Linked DNA regions of Homo sapiens: all the other regions are linked to region 3. The links are contacts of gene promoters, found by promoter capture Hi-C in blood cells and fetal thymus (Javierre and others, 2016). All regions are on one chromosome and are shown on one strand. Each heading gives the region's core, a stretch centred on a gene start or on the middle of the fragment in contact. The rest is flanking DNA. Distances are from core to core; before and after follow the strand shown.

The links. Contacts are between HindIII fragments. The CHiCAGO score rates a contact against its expected background, and 5 or more counts as called.
Region 1: a fragment that was not itself captured here is called in contact with the fragment with the promoter of LINC01977 in region 3 in 2 of 17 cell types (total B cells and naive B cells); the score reaches 5.8 in total B cells.
Region 2: a fragment that was not itself captured here is called in contact with the fragment with the promoter of LINC01977 in region 3 in 1 of 17 cell types (total B cells); the score reaches 5.4 in total B cells.

Annotation. Positions count from the first base shown.
Region 1 is chr17:81,402,856-81,406,988 of GRCh38, forward strand. The region is part of intron 2 of BAHCC1 (BAH domain and coiled-coil containing 1); the gene reads left to right. Among named protein-coding and RNA genes, the nearest start is that of MIR4740, 4.1 kb to the left of the region's middle. RefSeq lists an enhancer at 2,733-3,287. The HindIII fragment of the contact is 5,924 bases long and covers 1-4,133 here.
Region 2 is chr17:81,348,223-81,352,497 of GRCh38, forward strand. No RefSeq gene overlaps it. Among named protein-coding and RNA genes, the nearest start is that of RENO1, 4.4 kb to the left of the region's middle. RefSeq lists an enhancer at 79-716. The HindIII fragment of the contact is 1,209 bases long and covers 1,395-2,603 here.
Region 3 is chr17:79,820,405-79,824,784 of GRCh38, forward strand. LINC01977 (long intergenic non-protein coding RNA 1977) reads left to right here and starts at 3,048. Exons shown (of 3, transcript NR_146504.1): 1 at 3,048-3,134; 2 at 3,391-3,470. The HindIII fragment of the contact is 24,167 bases long and covers 1-4,380 here.

The DNA of each region.
Region 1 (4,133 bases), core at 358-2,857, 1.6 Mb after region 3:
CTTCCATTGTTTTTCTAAAAATGAAAGTGCTGGGAGCTTTAGACTCGGGCCGCAGGTTTTATGGTAAAGTGCTGTTCCAGTAACCTTGTCACCAAAAGGTGCAATTAAAATGTTTGGAATCATTATTTTTAGTTCAGTGTTAGATTTTGTCTCTAATACAGATGGTCCGGAGGCAAAGCTGTGAAATCTAGGGGGGAGAAAAGAGAAATCAACAAGAACCAACCCAAGATTTTTCATCAGTGCTACTGCCTGGAGCCACTGGGGCTGGCGCCTCTGCTGGGAGTGTGTGTGTGATCCGAGGCAGCCCCGGCCTGGGGAGAGGCCCACATAGACAGCCCCCCGTCCTGGCTTCTGGCTGGGCCCGCTCCTGTCCTGGTCTGTACGCCTCCCCTCTCCAGGGGCCAGGGCTCCACCAAGGCACTATTTCTCATCTTGGTTTCAATAATCTGCTCAGATTCCCCTCCCGCCCCTTCTCTTGTCTTCTTTGGGGTGTAAATTGCTGAAGCCTGGGAAACCAGGTGCTCTGAGCCTGGGGTTATTGTGGGAGAAAGGCGAAGGCTCCTTCTGGTGGGAGAACTGCAAACTACTTCTTTCCTGCTGAAAAAGTGCTTCCTACCGCCAATCTCAAAAAAAAAAAAAGAAAAAGAAAATACCAAAAAACACAACCAAAAAATACCCCCAACTTGGCAGAGGAAAAAAAAAGATAATTTCCTAGTGTGAAAAGACCCCATCACAGGCTCCTCTCCCTCATCATGTGATATTTTTTTGTAAAGAAAAAAATACATTTTCTTAAATACCTCATTAACTCCATGACACGATGGAGTGTTTCTGCAACAGTTAGCAACATTAAGTAGGTGTGAAAAGAGTTACTTTCCGAAGACGTCACCCGTCCCGCTCCATAAGTGACAGAGTTAGACATCAAAGTTGCCGCGAGCCCAAAGGAGCTACGGGAATCCGGGAATGTGGGGCCGCGTGGACCGGCGGCGGTGGCCCGCCACGCCCGCCCCGCCGAAGCCCTGTTTGGAATGTGGGTTTCCCCCAGTGGGGCTCGTGCTGCCACCACGTCTGATTATCCCGGTACGGAGCCGCCGCGCTTTCTGTAGGAATATCCAGGTCACGTGAGTAATAAGGCAAATTAGTGAGCCAGGCAGAGAACGGCGTTGTGCAAATAGCACATCTCCCCTGGAAAACGCGCGTCCCCCCAAACGTTCCCCGGTTATTCTTAGAAATCTTCTCTCATCTCCCTGTGAGACAGGGTTCAACAGCCCCCACAGACAGGACAAAATGCATAGGAGGCTGTTAGAATAACATGGATGAGGCTAAAAATACCCCTCAGAAACACACATAAAAAAGCCAAATCCAACAACAGAACGAGCTAAAAATATTCCAGGCTTTGGCAAAGAGCACAGAGTTAAATAAATTATACAAGAGCCATTCATGGGAGCAAGTTGACTTTCTCTCTTACGGGAACTTGGTTCAAGCTAATAAAAATAATAATTTACTAGCCACTGAGCTTTGCATGAGTTTAAATTTAATTGGTGGGGCTTCTGGCGTTTGTCACTTCTTGGCGATTAGTGGTCTTGCCCTGGCCTGGGCCAGAGTGGGGAGGGGATGCCGAGGCTGGGGCTCCTGGCAGCAGGGTCATTGTCCCCTGAGAAGCAGGGCCTGGGTGCAAGGGCAGATTACCCAGGAGGCTGGAGGAGGATGGAGACTATTGGGGGTTCCATCCAGGAAGGCAGAAAAAGAACTGGCAAGGCACGGCTATTTTAATTTGATAAATGATTGTACACCTTTAAGAGTGTTTTAACAATCAGGATACACTCCAGCAAGTTGATAGGATGTTCGCTGTCAACTTACATATGTCATCAGAGCTGGCTGTGAGCATAAATAATGTGCGAGCGCTTGGGACAGCTGCAGTCTCTCCTGGAGGCTGAGGCGTGGCAGGTAGCACCTCTGTCCCCTGGCGGGCACCTTTGTTCTCCTTCTCTCTGTGTGTCTGGAGGCAGGGACCGGAGAACAGTCGTGGGGAATCACTGAATGCTGCTTTCATCCTGGGTGGTTTGGTTGGGGTGCCTCCTCTCTGCGGACTTTTTAGGTCTCCCCACGAAAATAAGAGTCCCCAGAACTACTTGACCAGAAAAGCCACTGTGGATATGATCTGAAGCTAGAATAGTAGCATCGTCTGGTGTGTTTTGTTTTTGTTTTTGTTTTGTTTTTGTTTTTTGAGACAGTCTGGCTCTGTCTGCCAGGCTGGAGTGCAGTGGCACAATCTTGGCTCACTGCCTCACTGCAACCTCTGCCTCCCTGGTTCAAGCCATTGTCGTGCCTCAGTCTCCCAAGTAGCTGGGATTACAGGCATGTACCACCACGCCCTAATTTTTTGTATTTTTAGTAGAGACGGGGTTTCACCATGTTTCCCATGCTGGTCTTGAGCTCCTGAGCTCAAGCAATCTGCCCACCTTGGCCTCCCAAAGTGCTAGGATTACAGGTGTGAGCCACCGTGCCCGGCCTCTGGTGTCTTTTGAGGCAGCAGATGTTTATATATAGCCACTTCCCAGGAGTTTTAAACATCCACCCTGGGGTTGGAGTAAGGGTAACTCCCTTTACTCCCTCCTCTTCCTTGGCTGTTTCTTAACTCAATCTGCCTCCCCCGCCCCCAATCCTGGCAGGGCCTTCTAACTCCCAAAGGACTATATTTCCCAGAATACCCTGATCTAGCTCCAGGGTCTGAGCCCGAGACTGTCCATGTCCCTGGGCTGGGAATTCCCAAGCACAGATAGAGTTCAGCCAGTGCCGCTGGGAATAAATACTTTCCTGGTGGAAGAAAGCCTTGCTCCATCGTGCCCCCCTGCCCTTCCTTCTGGAAGAGGCTTCTGGGCCCCCCGGTCTGGCTTCCTCCCTACCATAAATACCTGAATATAGGCCCATAACAAATGGGACCTGTCCTCTGTCCTCTGCCCTCTGGATCCTGTGAGGCAGCTACTGTGATTGTCCTGGCCAACGCCCCACCGGAGAGTCTCCCCCAACCCCCTGAGCTCAGTACATGGCATATGCCCTCTTTTGGAGTGGTCTTCTCAGAGGGGCCTGGTTGCCCATCAGCTGCTGTGGAAGCGATACAGGGACTCCTCCTGGGTAGCAGCAGGGCCAGCCTCTGCCTAGGGAGTCCCTCGAGAAAATACCGCCCAGCCTTTGGGGTGCCCCCTTGCCCTCCTGACACCCTCAAACAACAGAAGCTGCCTGCCTTCTTAATGGGTTCATCCTGAATGAGAGGTTTCCAAAAAGAAGCCCTCCCTCAAGACAGGCACTGCCTTGTTCCCCTGAGGAGGGAGGCAGGCTCGTCCTGGCCTGTCCAGGGGAGGGTCCGAAACCCTTGGCTCCTGGACAGCCTCCTTGAGGGGAGATGGCCTCCCCTTGTGTCCCCCACCTCGCAGACGTGCTGTGAATGGGCTTGGACTCAGAGCACGCCCCTGTCTGTTGGGTAGGTGGGTTACTTGCTCTGCATTCCCCCTCCCAGCCCCCGCTCCCCGCCCACCTGGGAACGGCTTCCCTGGGGTTCCCCGGTCCCCATTAACCTCTGGGACCTCATTTCCCCTCACCGAAGACACAGTGTAACAAGCAAAAAAAACATCAGAGCCAGCGTGCAGTGTCTGGAAAATCACCCGCAGCCCAGGCCCTTCTGCAAAGGATGGGGCCTGGAAGGGCCTCGGGCGTGGGACCGCACTCCGCTCGGGCTCCGCCCGCTGACGTTTTTATGGGATAATATACCGTTTCGCTCACGCAGGCCTATTTGTCAGTGGGCTGCCCCTGTTTGTTGTAATCTATAATATTACTGCCTCCCGTGGCCCCAGAGCAGCTGCCGCGGGAGAATCCAGGGATGGTGGGCGCTAGGTGTGCGCTGAGGGGATGTGGTGGCAGGCGCTGGGGGCAGGCGGCGCCCAGGTCCTGGTTATGAGGTCGGCGCGGGGTTTGCAGCGAGCCTCGGGTCTGGTGGGGAGGCGTCCAGCGCCCAAGCTGGGAGCCAGCCGGGCTGGCATGCTGCAGCTGTCCACACGATTAGGTTCCCGATCGGATCAGCCAGGAAGTGGGTTTTTTTCATTCTGACCTGCTGTGGCGAGGAAGGGAGGGACAAACAG
Region 2 (4,275 bases), core at 749-3,248, 1.5 Mb after region 3:
CCTGTAGTCCCAACTATTCAGGAGGCTGAGGCAGGAGAATCGCTTGAACCCAGGAGGTAGAGGCTGTGGTGAGCCGAGATTGCGCCATTGCACTCCAGCCTGGGCAACAACGAGAGTGAAACTCCATCTCCAAAAAAACAAAGAAAAAAAAACTGTAAGTCCATTACAACCAGCAGGGACAAGATGGGTGCCCTCCGTGGCCCAGAAATCTGGAGGAGTCCTGGGGAGATGGGGGTGGGGACGTTGCTCTCGCTGGAGGGAAGAAATGACAGCCTTGGTGCCCAGAAGTGAAACCTGCTGGCAGGTGATGGCAGCTCCCAGAGGAGCCAAGGGGCCCTGGGACAGTGGGAGGGGGATGGCTGGGGTGTCTGTGGGAGGGCAGCCTCACCCTTGGCTGAGTACACTCAGCACAGGCAGTGGACAGAGAAGAGATCCCATTGTGGAATAACACCTGGAGGGAGCGGGGAGTCGTGGGCTCTGAGCCGTCAGCCACAGTTGAGGTGTCTGACCACGTGCTGCTGATGGACAAGCAGGGATCCCACACAAAGCTGGGATCACCAACCCCAAGGACGCACCACAAACTGAAGAACTAACACGAGCGAACTAACTAGCGCAGAGCCGGCGCTGTACAGCGAGATTGGGTGCCCCTCCTCCTTGGCCTGGGCTAGACTGAATCTGCCAGGTTCCCTGGCAAGGGGTGTGGCCAGGTGGCCACCTGCAGTGGAGGTGACAGCAGTGACGTGTGCCTCTCCTGTGACTGGCCCAAAAGGCCCTCCATTAACTTTTCCTTTCCCAGGGCCTGGCAACAACCAGGGTGACACAGGAAGCTTCGCTTGAGGACAGCAGAGTCACCCTCAGCCTAGGGCTCTGAGTGACTGCAAGAATCAAGGCCATTGTCAAACGGAAACCCTGCCATGGTTGTCAAGAGAGAAATCCACTTCTCTTTTGTTTAGGCATTTACACCAGCGTCTATGCCTCAGAGCAGTTTAACTTACAATTCAATTAGCAATTTAATCATTGGTTTTTCACTCCCCCGTAGCAGAATTTTACATCCGTCTGCTTGCTGTGGTCTCTAGGTGGTGGGTGGGCTCTCCTCCCTTGACTTTGGGCTTGGCGAGTGACGTGCTCTGGCTAGTGGGAAGGTAGCAGATTTGAAATGGGCAAAGGTTTGGAATGTGCCAGCAAGGGCAGCCTGGTCTTCCTGCTTGCCAGGGACCCACTACAAGCAGGCTGTGCCCCAGAGAAGAATGGAGAACGCAGATAACTGACGGGGGCTCCAAGAAGCGAGAAACCTGGGCGGACCTCAGCCCAGCCCACATCCCAGAACCCGGAGGCCAGGGGCTTGGCCAGGTGGAGGTCGGCCCTAGCCCTGTGAGCGTGAGACTCGGCCACCAAGCTTTAAGGTCGTCGTTATGCAGCACTGTTGTGGCAAAAGCCGACTGATACACCTGCCCTGGCACTTGGGGATACAGGGAAACGGATGTGGTGAATTGAAGATGATGCCACACGTCCCCTGGTGTGCCGAGGTAAAGGCTTGGGAACGCTGGGAAGAGGGAGGAAAGAGCCAGAAGGTTAGCGCGAGGCACTCATTCCCTGTAGCTTGACTACTGTTTCCAGAAATTGAGGGCCGGTTTGCAATTAGAGTTACCCCAGAAAGTTGGGACTCCCAGGTTGAAAAAGCCACTGTTTATGCCTCAAACAGTAGGAGAAAAGATGGTGGCTGTTCAAGGCCTGTCACTCAGGCAGCTCAGTCCAACAAAAGTGTGCAGGCCTACGGCAAAGATCAGATGAAGGCTCAGGTTGCGGGGGGAGGGGAGCAGATGGCTTAATGAATCATCTGTCAGTTGGACCCGGAAGACAGTCATCGGGACCCACGGAAAGGCTCTGCCCATCCTAGAGAGGCAGGCTTTGGGCTGGGTCTTCTCCCTGGAGATGATGGTGACTTTTTCTAACACGATGTGTGGAGGAAGGGTGGGTCTCACAGATGTCTGGAGGCCAAGGGCTGGCTGGCTGCCGTCCGGCTGTCCAACAGAAGCCGTTACCCCTTCTCATGGGGCCCCTGGCTGGTCTGCATTCCCAGGCTCCCTCGCAGTAGGTGTGGCTGGGTAACCGTGGTGTCCAACAGAATCTGGCAGAAGCAGTGTGCACCAGTTTCAGGAGCAGGTCACCCTTCCAGGAGGCTTTTAGGGTTCCCCCTTCTGATGGCTGAAATGGGCACATCAGAGAGACTGTGGAAGACAAATGTGCAAGATGACAGGGCAGCCTTCAGCCTGGGGCCCAACCAGGCCCCACCCCGCAGGAGCACTTGCTTGGGCAGGTCAGGGATAAATAAGCCGCGGGCTGGCATGGGCAGCTACGTTTGGGGTCTATTTGCTACAGTTGTGTAACTTGCACTGAGCAAGAGTTTCAGAACACACAGTGTTCAAAAACACCAGTAATAGCTTCAGAGAGAAAAGAGATTTTGTTCTTTAAAAAAAGAATCTGGGGAAGTGAACTCAGATTTTTGCTTCCTTCCTCATAATTTTAGGTAGTATTCAAAAATTTACAAGAAGATTCAGAAATAATAACCAAGAAAACTGCATTCATGTGAACAAATAAAAATAAGCTTTGGGGCTGGGCACAGTGGCTCGCGCCTGTAATCCCAGCATTTTGGGAGGCCAAGGCGGGTGGATTGCTTGAGGTCAGGCATTTGAGACCAGCTTGACCAACATGGTGAAACCCTGTCCCTACTAAAAATACAAAAATGAGCTGGGCGTGGTGGCGGGTGCCTGTAATCCCAGCTACTCAGGAGGCTGAGGCAGGAGAATCACTTGAATCCGGGAGGCAGAAGTTGCAGTGAGCCAGGACTGCGTCATTGCACTCCAACCTGGACAACAAAGTAAGACTCTGTCTCAAAAATTATAAAAAATAAATAGAGGCCGGGCACGGTGGCTCACACTTGTAATCCTGTATCTGGAATTGGTGGGTTCTTGGTCTCACTGACTTCAAGAATGAAGCCGTGGACCGTCACGGTGAGTGTTACAGTTCTTAAAGGCGGCGTGTCTGGAGTTTGTTCCTTCTGATATTCAGATGCGTTCGGAGTTTCTTCCTTCTGGTGGGTTCGTGGTCTCGCTGGCTCAGGAGTGAAGCTGCGGACCTTCGCGGTGAGTGTTACGGCTCTTAAGGCAGCGCGTCTGGAGTTGTCCTTCCTCCCGGTGGGCTCGTGGTCTCGCTGGCTTCAAGAGTGAAGCTGCAGACCTTCGGGGTGAGTGTTACAGCTCATAAAGGCAGTGTGGACCCAAAGCGTGAGCAGTAGCAAGATTTATTGCAAAAAGCGAAAGAACAAAGCTTCCACAGCGTGTAAGCAGACCAGAACAGGTTGGCACTGCTGGCTCGGGCAGCCTGCTTTTATTCTCTTATCTGGCCCCACCCACATCCTGCTGATTGGTAGAGCCCAGTGGTCTGTTTTGACAGGGCACTGATTGGTGTGTTTACAATCCCTGAGCTAGACACAAAGGTTCTCCACGTCCCCACCCGATTAGCTAGATACAGAGTGTCTACACAAAGGTTCTCCAAGGCCCCACCAGAGTAGCTAGATACAGAGTGTCGATTGGTGCATTCACAAACCCTGAGCTAGACACAGGGTGCTGATTGGTGTGTTTACAAAACTTGGACTAGATACAGAGTGCCGATTGGTGTATTTACAATCCCTTAGCTAGACATAAAGTTCTTCAAGTTCCCACTAGACTCAGGAGCCTAGCTGGCTTCACCCAGTGGATCTCGCACTGGGGCTGCAGGTGGAGCTGCCTGCCAATCCCGCGCCGTGCGCCCACGCTCCTCAGCCCCTGGGTGGTCGATGGGACTGGGCGCCGTGGAGCAGGGGGTGGCGCTCGTCGGGGAGGCTCGGGCTGCACAGGAGCCCACGGGTGGGGGGCGCGGGGCGGGGACGGGAGGCTCAGGCATGGCAGGCTGTAGGTCCCAGCTCTGCCCCACGGGAAGGCAGCTAAGGCCTGGCGAGAAATCCAGCGCAGCGCCGGTGCGCCGGCACTGTTGGGGGACCCAGCACACCCTCCGCAGCCGCTGGCCCGGGTGCTAAGCCCCTCATTGCCCGGGGCTGGCAGGGCCGGCCGGCTGCTCCGAGTGCGGAGCCCGCCAAGCCCACGCGGAACTCCAGCTGGCCCGCAAGCGACGCACGCAGCCCCAGTTCCCTCTCGCGCCTCTCCCTCCACACCTCCCCGCAAGCTGAGGGAGCCGGCTCCGGCCTTGGCCAGCCCAGAAAGGGGCTCCCACAGTGCA
Region 3 (4,380 bases), core at 1,798-4,297:
CAACCTAAATTGTGAGCTACACTCACCTAGACTACCAGAGGGCTTCACTTGCTCAGTCATTACTCAGCCAGCCGGGCCACGTGGACTATTTTCTACTGACTTTGCCTCTCTCCCATCACAGGGAGGCAAGTGAGAGAGTAGGAAGGCGTTGTTCTTCTCTAGCATGGTCCACTGTCAGGAGGGGAACACCAGCCCAGCATGAGGAGAGTGACCTGGGGGCCGAGGGTGATTTTTTTCTTTCTTTCTTTCTTTTTGAGACAGAGTTTCACTGTTGCCCAGGCTGGAATGCAGTGGCACGATCTCAGCCCACTGCAACCTCCGCCTCCCGAGTTCAAGTGATTCTTGTGCCTCAGCCTCCCGAGTAGCTGGGACCACAGCTGTGCACCACCACGCCTGGATAATTTTTGTATTTCAGTAGAGATGGGGTTTCACCATGTTGTCCAGGCTGGTCTCGAACTCCTGACCTCAGGGGATCTGCCCGCCTCGACCTCCCGAAGTGTGAGGATTATAGGCAGGAGCCACCTCGCCTGGCCCCGAGGGTGCTTTAGTTTTAGAATCTTCTCATTATAGGTGTGGTTGAATGTTTCTGGGACCCAAGCTGTCACCAGGAGCTGGCCCCGTCATGACAAAATAATTCACCCCTTCCAATCTACCCTTCCCCAGATGAGATAAAAATGACTGGGCATCCAGATTAATGACTGGATCACATGCAGGAACGTACTGGCTGTGAGCAGCCCTGGGCCAGGGCAGAGGTGAACTTGACAATCATGTGGACGCTGGCTTTTGATTACTGCTTCTTCTGGGCTCACGCTACCCAGGGCTCTCTTTAGACCATCTCTAGGTGAACTTTCTGCCCCAGGAATGATCACCTCCATTTTACTGGTGAGAGGTTCAAGGACTTCCCTTCCTTCTTTCCTCCCTTCCCCTTCTCTCCACTTCCTTCTCCTTCCCTCCTACATCATTTTTCCCTTTCCTTTCTTCCTCCCTTCCTTTAGCAAATAGCCCTGGAGCAGCTGACCGGTTCTAGGAGCTGAGAACAGGGTGATGGGTAAGAGGGACAAGGGCTTGCTCTCACGGTGTTTACATTCTAGTGGGGGCAGGAGACAAGTCAACAGATCAATAATTTCAGATAAGAACAGCTGCTCTAAGAAGAACAACTGGGGAGTGAGATGCAGTCCACTTTAGGCCGGTGGTTGGGGACGGCTTCTCTTGAGAGGTGGCATTTAGGGGACTAAATGGTAACAATGAGCTGGCCTTGGGCAGGTCTGGGGGCAGAGCCATCAGTGCCAGGGCACAGAGCTAGGAAATGCAGAGCAGCTGGTACCCACGACTGGTCTTGCCTGAACCCCTAATCCTTGCTCTTTCTGCCACATCCTGCTTTCCCACTTGGCCAAAGAATTGTGGTTGGCCAAAGGTGGGGCTAAGCTGTGCAGTGGGAGGGGCCAGGCTGAGCTGGAGGTGGCCAGGAGCCTCCTGGTACAGGGCCCTGGTGCCAGTGTCCTCACCCTCCCAGAATCCTGTTCATTTGTGTTGAGGACATGGGGTGAAGGATCTGAAAATGCATGCGCAGGCAGACGACCCACCCAGGCCATTCACAGCCGCAGCAGTTTGGGACTCTCCGCTTGGCCCAGGTAGGGAGGCACTTGCGGTCCTTCCCAGGCCTGCCGTGAGGCTCCAGGGCCAGCGCCTATCCCCAGCCCCAAGGAGGCACTCCGAAGAACCTATTTTAAATCTCAGCTCAGCATTTTTGGCCAACTTACAGAGAAGCTGCAAGATGAGTAAAGGAACTTGCCTATATTTTTTATCTAGATTTACCAGTTGTTGACATTTGCCCATCTGCTTTGTCATTGGTGCTCTCTCTATTCTGTGTGTGTGTGTGTGTGTGTGTGTGTGTGTGTGTGTGTGTGTGTGTGTTTGTGTTTGTTTTGAGATGGAGTCTCCCTCTTGTTACCCAGGCGCGATCTCGGCTCATTGCAACCACCACCTCCCGGGTTCAAGCAATTCTCCTGCCTCAGCCTCCCAAGTAGCTGGGATTATAGGCACCGGCCACCACGCCCGGCTAATTTTTTGTATTTTTAGTAGAGACGAGGTTTCACCATGTTGGCCAGGCTGGTCTCAAGCTCCTGACCTCAGGTGATCCGCCTGCCTCAGCCTCCCAATATGCTGGGATGACAGGTGTGAGCCACCGCGTCCGGCCTTCCCACATATTTTTTTCTGAACCATTTGAGAGTCCATTGGAGACCTTGTGCCCTTTCTGCCTGCATACTTTGGGGTAGTGTGTTTTCCCTGAGATCAAGGACAAGATCTTACACAACAACCACAGTGCAATGGCCAGAATCAGGATGTTTAACATCAATCCAATACTGTTGTCTAACCCACAGTCCAGATGCCGTTTTCTCAGTCTCCTCAATAATGCTCTTTATAACTCACTTCTCTTTTCTGTTCCAAGAGCAAAGGATCCTGCGCTCATTCTGCGCCCTCTCCCTCTGGTCTCCTTTGCGCTGGGCAGGACCTTGGCCTCTCTCTGTGTTCTTTCACCTTGGCTTCTGAAGAGTACGCATCTGGGATTTCTTCGTGGTTGGATTCGGGCGCTGCGTTCTGGCGGGAAAACCGCTGGAATGACACTACGGACTTCTGGGTGCGGCTTCTCAGTGTTGGGAGGCCCACGATGGCAGTTTGGCCCATGATTGGTAACACTGGCTTTGATCCTTCCAATGTGATTTTTTTTTAACTTTTATTTTAAGTTCAGGGGTACAAGTGCAGGTTTGTTACGTAGGTAAACTTGCGGCGTGGAGGTTTGTGGCATAAATTATTTCATCACCCAGGTATTTTTTTTTTCTTTTTTGAGACGGAGTCTCGCTCTGTTGCCCAGGCTGGAGTGCAGTGGCCCGATCTCCACTCACTGCAAGCTCTGCCTCCCGGGTTCACGCCATTCTCCTGCCTCAGCCTCTCGTGTAGCTGGGACTACAGGCGCACGCCACCATGCCCAGCTAATTTTTTGTATTTTTAGTAGAGACAGGGTTTCATCGTGTTAGCCAGGATGGTCTCGATCTCCTGACCTCGTGATCCGCCCGCCTCAGCCTTCCAGAGTGCTGGGATTACAGGCTTCAGCCACCGTGCCCAGCCTCACCCAGGTATTAAACCTAGTACCCATTAGCTGTTTTTCTTGATCCTCTCCTTCCTCCCACCCTCCACCCTCCAAAAGACTTCCGTGTGTGTTGTTCCTTTCTATGTGTCCATGTGTTCTCATCATTTAACTCCCACTTATAAGTAAGAACATGTGGTGTTTGGTTTTCTGTTCCTGCGTTAGTTTGCTGAGGACAATGGCCTCCAGCTCCATCCATGTCCCTGCAAAGGACGTGATCTCTTTCTTTCTTTTTTTTTTTTTAGATGGAGTTTCAATCTGTCACCCAGGCTAGAGCACAGTGGCACAATCTTGGCTCACTGCAACCTCTGTCTCCAGGATTCAGGTGATTCTCGTGCCTCGGCCTCCTGAAAAGCTGTGACTACAGGTGCACACCAACACGCCTGGCTAATTTTTGTAATTTTTTTTTTTTTTTTTTGTGAGATGGAGTCTCGCTGTGTCGCCCAGGCTGGAGTTCAGTGGCGCCATCTCGGCTCACTGCAAGCTCCGCCTCCCGGGTTCACACCATTGTCCTGCCCCAGCCTCCCAAGTAGCTGGGACTACAGGCACCCGCCACCACACCAGGCTCATTTTTTGTATTTTTAGTAGAGATGGGGTTTCACCGTGTTAGCCAGGATGGTCTCGATCTCCTGACCTCGTGATCGCCCGCCTCGGCCTCCCAGAGTGCTGGGATTACAGGCGTGAGCCACCGCGCCTGGCCTAATTTTGTAATTTTAGTAGAGATGGGGTTTCATCATGTTGGCCAGGCTGATTTCGAACTCCTGGTCTCAGGTGATCCTCCCGCCTCAGCCTCCCAAAGTATGGGGATTACAGGCGTGAGCCGCCGCACCTGGCCCACGTCGTTCTTTTTTATGGCTGCCCAGTGCGGTGTTTTTGATTCGCACCATTTCCCGCCTCCTCTGGGCCTTTGTGTCTTCCTCGTCGTTGTCCTGGGCACCCCGGTCATCCTGGGTGCTCCTCGCCTGCTTCTGTCTGTTTCTGTTATGATGTTTCTCTGGTGTTTGGTCCCCGACCCTTTGGCTTCCTGACCTCTGTTTCTGTCTCTGTCTTTATCTCTGCTCTTCTCTTGGTTTCCTCTCTCCCTGCTGCCGCCTTCTCCCTTGATTTTATCCCTGTCTCATCCCTTTCTTATTCTCTCTCCAAAACACTGAAATGTCCATGACTGCAAGTGCCACATGGATCAACCACCAGGTTAACCTACAGCTAAAGACTGCAAGGTGCACCCTCTGGTTCTC